Linked DNA regions of Homo sapiens: regions 1 and 3 are each linked to region 2. Evidence: promoter capture Hi-C in 16 types of primary human blood cells and fetal thymus (Javierre and others, 2016). All regions are on one chromosome and are shown on one strand. Each heading gives the region's core, a stretch centred on a gene start or on the middle of the fragment in contact. The rest is flanking DNA. Distances are from core to core; before and after follow the strand shown.

Region 1 (3,393 bases), core at 152-2,651, 160 kb before region 2:
AAAGAAGTTTTAAAAACACTTGACTAGATAGAATGTCACTCTGTCATTAGCATGTCTGCCCAGCTCAAGAACTATCCTCAGTCCTACAGAAGTGGTCCCTTTGCCAACACCATCATACTTTGGGAATCCAGCCCATGGCCCACAGTCACTGACTGGGGCAGGAGCAAATATCTGATACAAGCTTGGTCAGTCTTGCCAATTTGGAAATGGAATGCAGAGAAAACCTGTTGCTGACCTCTGTGGGTGACTGGTACTGTAACATGTAAGTCCCTTGGTAGGGAGGGGAGAGGTGTGGATAGCAAGGAAGGCAGAGGAGAGAAGAGGAAGGGTTAAGTAAATATGCAGAGAGAGATCTCCCTGGGCTTTGATAGGGTTCAGATTCTAGTTCCAGTCCCATCTTAGACTCAGATGCATGGCCCTTGGCTTTCATAAGACACCCTCATATCCTTATAAGAACTTTTCCTTGTTGCTTAATCATGTTCAAGTTCATTTCCATAACTTGTGCCCAAAGAATCTTAACTGAGATGATAAAGTTTAAAGCAACTGCTTTAGAAGAAGAAAAAGGAGGCTCAAATCTCAACTCTATAATTTGCTAGCCTGTGACCTCAGGAGCACTTCTCAAAACCTCAATTATATGTAAAATGCAGATAATTACAGACTCTACCACAGGGATATTAAGAAGACTAAATGAGATAATATACAGTAAAGCACTTAGCATAGTGTCAGTCCTCATCCCATAAATGCAGGTTACACATTCCCATATCCCCTCCAAAATAAAATTTCATACATTCCATATATAATTACTGTCAAGGCACACAGGTGAAGAAAACAGATAAAAACCTGCCTTCATAGAGCTGCTTTTGAAGAGTTGAAATCGCATTACACTTAGCATAATTGCTGCTACGTATTTGGTACTCACTGAATATTTATTCATTTTACCTCTAAGTATATATAAATATTAAACAAGTAAGTCACTGATAAGTATTAAAACCTGCTAACCATGTTAGGTCACCAATGAGTACAGGTCTAACTTTGATATTCAGTATAAATAAAAATAGAAGATGATTCCCTGGAGTCTATTCTTACCCTTCCAGATGAGACAAGCATAATACACACAAAATTAAAAGATGTATTCATAACTCAATTATGCACTTGATAATGGATATTCTCCAACCCTCAGGCTAATATCAAGCCTTAGCCTTTAGTTATATTAAAAAGAATACTTATATGTAATAAACCTACTTATTACATATTGATTTCACCTCAAGTTAAAGTAACTCTCTTTTGCATGTGTCATGACTGCAAAACACACTCAATCTGACCACTAACCTCAAGTATGCCCTTAAAGTTGCTCAACTATCATGATCTGTTTCCCAAATCTCCTCACTTTTCCATCCTCTGAGACTACTATTTCATCCTTCCTTCCCCCATCATCCATAAGCTCAGCTTGCCTATTTTTTTTTTTTTAAATTCTGAAGAAAAAGCTACAGATTAGTCAAGGTTATAGATAGTAAAGATTACTACAGTAAAGATTACTACAGCTAGGTTTTCTTTGATGCAATAATAACATAAAAAAGATGACAGCAAATAAGAAATTTGTTCTAAGACTGATCCAAAAAAATATAATGAACTAAAAATAAGATAGATTTCTGTTGTTATTGTTGTTTGAGACAGGGTCTTACTCTGTCACCCAGGATGGAGTATAGCAGTACAATCATGGCTCACTGCAACCTCAAACTCCTGGGCTAAAGTGATCCTCTCGCTGCAGCCTCCTGAGTAGCTGGGACTACAGGTGCATGTCACCACACCCAGCTAATTTTTATTTTTTTTCTTTTCTTTTCTCTTTATTTTATTTTTGAAACAGGGTCTCTCTCTGTCGCCCAGGCTGGAGTGCAGTGGTGTGATCTTGGCTCACTGCAACCTCCACCTCCTGGGTTCAAGCAATTCTGCTGCCTCAGCCTCCTGAGTAGCTGGGACTACAGGTGCCTACCACCATGCCCAGCTAATTTTTGTATTTTTAGTAGAGACAGGGTTTCACCATGTTGGCCAGGCTAGTCTTGAACTCCTGACCTCAGGTGATCCACCCGCCTCAGCCTCCTAAAGTGCTGGGATTACAGGCATTAGCCACTGCACCTGGCCTAATTTTTAAAATTTATTGTAGATATAGAGTCTTGTTATGTTGCCCAGGCTGGTCTTGAACTCCTGCCTTAAGCAATCCTCCTACCTTCGCCTCCCAAAGTGCTGGGATTACAGGTGAGAGCCAATGTGCCTGGTAAGATAGATGTGTTCTATCTGGAATAGTTTAAGTTCACTCTGTTCAAGGTCAAGAATATAAATTAGGCTATATTAATATGATGATTGGAAAATATCTTGTAAAATAATTATGAGTATTTCACATGATGTAGTTTACAAGTAAAGGCAGAATTTTGAATATTAGAATAGAGCTTAATTTTACATATCTATATACCTCTCATAGACGTGTGTGTATCATAAAGATAGCACAATTAACTAGATTTACTTTTATAACTCTGGAAACTCTATTTAGGACTCTTATGAAGTGAGTCCTGCAGAAGTCTAAGGACTGGCACTTGTAAACCCCAGATCTAAGACAGAGAGTCTGTAAAGCTTAGTGCTGGTACTTGTATAATAAATAAAAGGATATCTACTCTTCATAAATATGTGGAGTTCATTTCAAGAGGTAACTATGTTTAGAAATAAAGCTACATTTAAGAGGCTATGGCTAATAACCTATCACTTATTAATTTATAGAAAGTATATAAAGAATTTCTATAGTGCCTTAATTTTTCTGAGGTAAAGATCATGAAAATACCACGTGTTCAGAAATATAACACTTCCTGCTGTTTTAAGTAGACTACATAAGATCACTCTGTGGCTTTACCAAGGATATTGTTTTCATGCCCAAAATATTTATGTATTTCATGATGCTGATGATAGTATGAGATTATATTAAGTGAAGTAACTCAGGAATGGAAAACCAAACATCATATGTTCTCACTCATAAGTGGGAGCTAAACTTTGAGGATGCAAAGGCATAAGAACAATACAATGGACTTTGGGGATTCCGGGGAAAAGGCGGAAGGTGGGTGAGGGATAAAAGACTACACACTGGGTACAGTGTACACTGCTCTGGCGATGGGTGCACCAAAATCTCAGAAATCACCACTAAATAACTTATTTATGTAACCAAACACCACCTATTCCCCCAAAAACCTATTGAAATTTTAAAAAATTTAAAAATAAAGATTACACAAGGTTACTATGAATGAAACTTTTCTATCTTGTTTAACATACATAATTAAATATAACTATCTTAAACGTAAGTTAAATATACATATTGTTTTATAAGTGTTAGGTATAAAAAAAATTCCTTTA
Region 2 (3,355 bases), core at 1-2,500:
TTCCATGCCAGAATGGGAGGTTTGAACAGATGACTTGGAAGGTCCCTTTCAACCCTGGGAGTCTATAAAAGGGAAGTGGTTATTACCGCTTAAAAGAAGAAGTAGGCTTAGTCCTACTTCCAGAGAGCCAATGTTTTCATAGTTACAGAAAGGTAAATAGACTGTCAGCTCAATATGACACTGGTAAGAATTTTCTAACAATTACGGCTATCCAACAGAAGAAAGGCTGTCTCAGAAGGTGGTTAGCTCTGAAACAACTGGTATTTAAGGGCTGGAAGGACCCTTAGGTATCTTTAGGTCTTCCTAATCTTTTTCATGCCATTGCCTATACAGAAAATGGTATTTCTATAACACAAATAAAAAAATTATACAGCAATTTTTGACACATCAATGTCTCAAGGCATACTTGTCACACGTTCTCAGGGCTTTGGCTGGGAAAACTGATTTAGTCTAACATCCTCGTTTGCAGAGGGGGAAACTGAATCTTAACGAGGGAATGCAATATTCCCAAGTCAAGACGTTAATGTTAATACTGGAACTAGAAGAATTGAGACTAGCGACTGTGGACAACTAGCCAGTTTCCTCTGCTCAAATTAAGCAAGCTGGAGGCCAGACTGAAAGACTGCAGTAGATGGTAGAATAAACAGTCTAAAGCTATATTGCTTTAAATGTGGTCTCAAGACCACCGACATTAGAACTTGTTAAATTCTGGGGAACTCGCTAAAATGAAGATTAATGGGCCCCACATAGACACACGGAATTAAGCTCTGCGGTAAGGCCTTGGAATCTGCATTTTTAGGTTTGCGAATCCCCGCCTCTCCCGTTACTATTTCTGAACTCCGAGCTCCAGCCCTGGCTTGAACTGAGACGCTCCGCTGGGCGCGCAGCAGCCGCCGATCGGACCTCGGGGTCCTGGATGCAGGACTGTCTGTTACGTACAGCCCTTGTGACCGTCACGGGCGGACACCGGCCAACGCCGGGTTGGGGTGAGGCCGCCGCCGCGGTCCCTCCATCACCCTCCTGGCCCGGCAGAGGAACCCACTGCTCCGGGCGGCCGGGGACAGAGGTGGCTCAACAGCGCCGCCTCGAAGCCAGAGCCCTCCGCAGGCTAGAGGATTGCGGTTTCCCTTCATCTCCGCGGCTCTTATTCCTCCCCCGCAAGGCCGCCCACCGGGGTACGCTCTCCCGCGCCTGCGCCAATTCCGCCCCGCCCCGCCCCCATCTACCGACCGGATGTTAGCAGATTTCCCATAGTGCCTCGCTAGTGGCGGGCATGATAACACACGCCGGAGGGTCGCACGCGGGTTCCAGTTGTGATTGCTGGAGTTGTGTATTGCCAGGAGGCTCTCCGAGATTGGGGTCGGGTCACTGCCTCATCCACCGGAGCGATGGCGTTTCTCCGAAGCATGTGGGGCGTGCTGAGTGCCCTGGGAAGGTCTGGAGCAGAGCTGTGCACCGGCTGTGGAAGTCGACTGCGCTCCCCCTTCAGGTAGGCCCGCTTGCCTGTGCCCTAGGGGCAGCAGGGCCCAGGACGTCCCGGGGTTGGAATGTAGACCCTATCCTTCACTTTCTGCCCCTCCTAGGAGTTCAGAGTCACCCTGGTTCTTTGATTCAGACCGCGACCTTGCCAAGGGGACGGTGGCCTTGAGACCAGGCCTTTATTTACTCTCTTAATACGCCGTACCTTCTTGCTACCCTCCACTCGCTTCTCCCATCCCTCCTCACTGTCCAGCTTTGGATCCTTTCCGCCTCCTCTGCGAATTCGCGCCGAGTCTCCGGCCATCATCTAGGCATTGAGGAGGCGGGGCCCAGGAGCTGGAGTATAGACGCTTTCCTTCACTCCCTGCCCTTCCTAGGAGGTAAGGGCTTTGAGACTTCAGTCCTGCAGACGCTCCCCTCCGTTTAGGACAGGGTTTTAATAAGTCTCTAGCATTCTTGTTGAAGGCGTTGGATACATAGTATCTTGATGACATTTCTTATTTGGGATCTGTGTTCATATACATGTGAATATTGACAGTTAAACATCTGACACTGGTTATTTTCTTTTTGTTTATATGTAGTTTTGTGTATTTACCGAGGTGGTTTTCATCTGTCTTGGCAAGTTGTCCAAAGAAACCTGTAAGTTCTTACCTTCGATTTTCTAAAGAACAACTACCCATATTTAAAGCTCAGAACCCAGGTAAGGAGTTTTGGGGCATATACCCTTTTCTCATGTAATAAAAATGCCATTAAGCAGTTAAATACCAATGTTGAATTGCAGTGCTAAAGCATTCAGTGACTGCAGGAACAATCATTTGATGTCTGTAAAATAGGAAGTTCTATTTTATACCAAATGGAAATGCTTTAAATATAAATGAGAACTAGTAAATGGTATTTTAAAAATAACGTATAGTGTAGAAAGCACCCTAGGAAGAGGATAAAAAAGCTGAATTTGGGGCCTTGTTGCCTTTGGTCTAGAGGACCACTGATGAATTATTTTCTCTTGCCTAGCTCCTCCTTTTTCTGGCTCAGGGAATTGTTAATAAAGTTGCAACTTCTGTGGAAGCATCCATAAACTGTAAGTTCTGTAGAACTGTAAAGTTCTATGCAATTTACTGCTAATTTCAAGAGCTTTCAAGATAAGAAAGGATAAACCTTTTCATCATAGGAGTTCAGAGCCACTCTGGTTCTTTGATTCAGACCTCGACCTTGCCAAGGGGATGGTGGGTTGTAAAGGATAAATCCTTTCTTGTCTTGGGTTCCTAAAAAAAAAACATTTCCAGGTAGGATGTTTGTTGACTCTCTAGAAAGCCTCTCGGCGAGAATAAAAAATGCTCACATCAGGCTGGGTGAGGTGGTTCACACCTGTAATCCCAGCACTTCGGGAGGTCGAGATGGGTGGATTGCTTGAGCCCAGGAGTTCGAGAACAGCCTGGGAAACATGGAAATCCTGTCTCTACCAAAAATACAAAAATGAGGTGGGCATGGGGGCGCAGTGCCTGTAGTCCCAGCTACTTGGGAGGCTGTGGTGAGAGGATCACTGGATCCCAGGAAGTTGAGGCTGCAGTGAGCCATGACTGCTCCACTGCACTCCAGCCTGGGTGACAGAGCGAGACCCTGTCTCAAAAAACAATAATAATTTTAAAAAAAAGCTCACATTATAGGTAAGGAGTTAGTTTCAGAGACATGCTTAAGTACCCACATCTTTTAAATGTAAGAGTTAGTACTAACAGGTATTTTTAAAAATCAATTAATTGCACGCCATCATTCCGGTTAAGATGAAGAAGGAAGTGGAGAATAACAGATTGAATTTCGAATAGCTTGTTTCCAAATGATATTTCTGTTATTGAAATACGAGGCTGTGTTATATGGATCG
Region 3 (3,197 bases), core at 515-3,014, 140 kb before region 2:
TTTCTGTATAAGACTGGTTGGTAAACAGTCAAAAGACTTCAAAGAGTAGTCCAATATAACTAAAAATTTCTGAAGAAGAATTCTGTTCCTGAAGGTTCAGATGGAGCACAAGAAAGGCCTTTATTCCCATGGTTATAACATTTTCTGTGGGGCTTAAAATGAGTAAAGAAGCTTTGATGAATAGAATTCCAGAGGAAAATAAAAATTGAACTTTCATAAGTAAGCAGAGAACCATGACAGCTTCCCTGCCTTGGGGCAAACACCTTGGTCTAGATACAGGTGATCTTCCCATTAGACAAATACATTTTATCAGGCAAGCAGTAATCAGCCAAGCGGTAGACAACAGCATGGGATAGCAGGATGGATTAGAGACTGTAATAATCCCAACACAAAAAGAGATTGCTTCGTCCAATATGTCTCCCATATTACTCACCCTGCAACATAACCCCTCACGTTTGAGAAGACAGAAGGTGGTAATCTCGGCATTCTCTAGGTGAGTGAATTCCAGGATCCAAATAAACCAACAGTAAACCAACAGTATCTGAGCCTGCAACCAAATCCCCACCCCCAGCTCAAAAACTGTCAAGATAAAAAAGGAGGCACCTTGGAATGCTGAGCCAATAACAGATACACTGAAACTGAGACTGCAGCCTAGCACTAGCTCAACTAAACTCAGTCCCTTACCCTAAACACAGGAAAGGGCATGTACTGCACGGGGGATCAAAACAAAACAAAAAATAGTACACATCACTTCCCACGGTTCTTTAAATAAAATGCCCTAGATTCAAGAAAAAATTATGACACATACTCAAAATATCAGGAAAACATAAAGCACAATCAAGAGAAAACATAATAGGAGATGACACACAGATGACCAAGTCATTGTAATTAGCAAGCAAGCATGTTAAAACAAAAAGTATAAATATGCTAAAGAAACAATAGAAAAAGATGAATGCAAATGCTAAACAGATTAGGTATTTCAGGAGATAAACTACAAAAAAAAACTCTAAAACTGAAAAGGCACAGTATCTGAAATAAAAAATTTAATTAATGGGATTTAATCAACAGATAAACAATCACAGAGGAACAGAGCAATGAACATTCACAAAGACCAATACAAAATATCTAAATTAAAGAAAATACAGAAAAGTATCTAAAAAGAAAAAAAAAATGTATAGAGCATTAGAAACCCATAAGGTAATACCAAGAGTTTTTAACAAATGTGTAGTTGGGGTCCCATAAAGAGAAAAGAGAATGGGCCAGAGAAAAAATTCTGGGCTTTCAAGTTTCCACCTAGGATATAGAAAGCTGGAAGAAGCATTGCTCCCACCTAAAAGCAAGAAAAAGCTAGATAATCTACAAAATCATAACTTTTCACGAAACCATCAAAGTGTTGAGATAATAACCAACAGACTTGAAATCTAAAGGAAGACATACACCACGAAAAAAAAAAAAAAAAGACAAATGAGAGCACTGACTCACCCATGGAGCGGAATGGGAAGGTGGGGTTACCTTACAAGGGGGTTAGAATAATAAAGCTAAAATTTTTAACAAATAGCTAATGGCAAAGTGTAGATTCCAGTGAGGGTATAGAACTCCCAGAAGTTGCAAACACTTGCAGCATTTTCTTCCAGGCCGTCAAGAAAAAGACTGGAGAGAGGCAGAAAGCCAGAAAAAGTGACCATCAGAGGTACAGGCATTAAGGAAGTGAAGCACCACTACTAAAAAAGACCCTTTTCCCCTCTGGATCAAAAGTCTTAAGTTGTTGAGGTAAGAGCAGCAAATCATGTTGTCCCCAAGAAACAAGTGACAAGCCATTGTGGATGGCAGAAGAATAAAGAAAAATATTCTCCAACACTGGGAGGGTGAAGGAAGACAGGAAATCATATGCAGTCCTAACTTTAGAGGTCTCCTACTGCTGGGGGTGGGAAGGAAACTCATACAAACGACTTGCTGAAGGCAGAAGGCAGTCTGACTTCTACAGGAAAGAGGGGCAGGATACCTGAACAAGTCCCATTCCCCAAAACTTAGGATCACAGAGCCTACCTAACATTGAATCTGGGCCAAGACAATAGAGGATACCTCTGCAGCCTAGCACCAGGGTAGCTATCACCAAGTAAAAAATAATAGTAATCTACATTTGCGGGAGGGGCACGAACATAGAGAAAACCACCTCTGAGGCCTAGGTGCACAAAGAAGACCTAAAGTAGACAGTTAAACAGAAATACTGAGAAAAATCCTCTGGCAAATCAGACCCACCCTAAACAAAAGACGACACTAGCAGAATTTCAAATCTGTGGTGCACTGACAGTATTTTAGTCAGCCAGGGTTTGCATAACAAAATGCCATAGACTGAGCAGCTTAAACCACAGAAATTTATTTTTCCATATTTCTGAAGGCTAGAAGTCCCAGACCAAGGTGCTGGGAGATTTGGTTCCTAGTATGGACTCTCTTAGCTTGTAGAAGGTCACCTTCTCACTGTGTTCTCACATGGCAGACAGCTAACTCTCTAGTGCCTTTTCTTATAATGATACATTCTGTTGGTTCAAGACTTAACCCTTATGACCTCATTTAACCTTAATTACCTCCATAAAGGTGCAATCTCCAAATATGATTACATTTACAGGGGAGGGGGGCTTCAACATATGAATTTTAAAGGACACAAACACTCAGTCCATAACAGAAACCAACTATAACAACAATACTTACATTTATCTCAACTCCTCATTAGATTGGTTCAAATCACCAACATTACCAGTCAAGCAGAAGAGGTATAATCATTTCAGTAACAAATACTGTTGGCTTCAGTTTGCTACAGTCCTACACATGATGCCCACCAGAATTTAATAAAAATTACAACAGATAAAAAAGCAAGGAAAATAATACCGTCAACAAATACAGCAAAATACAGACCAGTATCAGAAATGACAGTGATGTTAAAATAATCAGACAGGGGAACTTAACCATAATTAATATGTTAAAGCTGTAATAGAAAAAGTACACAACATGGATGAAAAGACATCACGAGGTAAGGAGATCGAGACCATCTTGGCTAACATGGTGAAACCCCATCTCTACTAAAAATACATAAAAAAATTAGCCAGGCGTTGTGGCGGACGCCTGTAGTCTCAGCTACTCGGGAGGCTGAGGCAGGAGAATGGCGTGAACCCAGGCGGTAGGGGTTGCAGCGAGTCGCG

The links. Contacts are between HindIII fragments. The CHiCAGO score rates a contact against its expected background, and 5 or more counts as called.
Region 1: a contact is called between a fragment that was not itself captured here and the fragment with the promoter of TFAM in region 2, in 2 of 17 cell types (monocytes and neutrophils). The highest score is 7.1, in monocytes.
Region 3: a fragment that was not itself captured here is called in contact with the fragment with the promoter of TFAM in region 2 in 4 of 17 cell types (neutrophils, monocytes, activated CD4 T cells and 1 more); the score reaches 10.4 in neutrophils.

What each region holds. Positions count from the first base shown.
Region 1 is chr10:58,219,910-58,223,302 of GRCh38, forward strand. The region is part of intron 3 of IPMK (inositol polyphosphate multikinase); the gene reads right to left. Among named protein-coding and RNA genes, the nearest start is that of IPMK, 46 kb to the right of the region's middle. The HindIII fragment of the contact is 2,444 bases long and covers 180-2,623 here.
Region 2 is chr10:58,384,160-58,387,514 of GRCh38, forward strand. TFAM (transcription factor A, mitochondrial) reads left to right here and starts at 1,251. Exons shown (of 7, transcript NM_003201.3): 1 at 1,251-1,489; 2 at 2,061-2,179. The coding sequence starts at 1,389. RefSeq lists enhancers at 702-801, 995-1,651 and a silencer at 932-1,311. The HindIII fragment of the contact is 8,486 bases long and covers 1-3,355 here.
Region 3 is chr10:58,239,215-58,242,411 of GRCh38, forward strand. All of the region lies in intron 1 of IPMK (inositol polyphosphate multikinase), which reads right to left. Among named protein-coding and RNA genes, the nearest start is that of IPMK, 27 kb to the right of the region's middle. The HindIII fragment of the contact is 3,191 bases long and covers 170-3,197 here.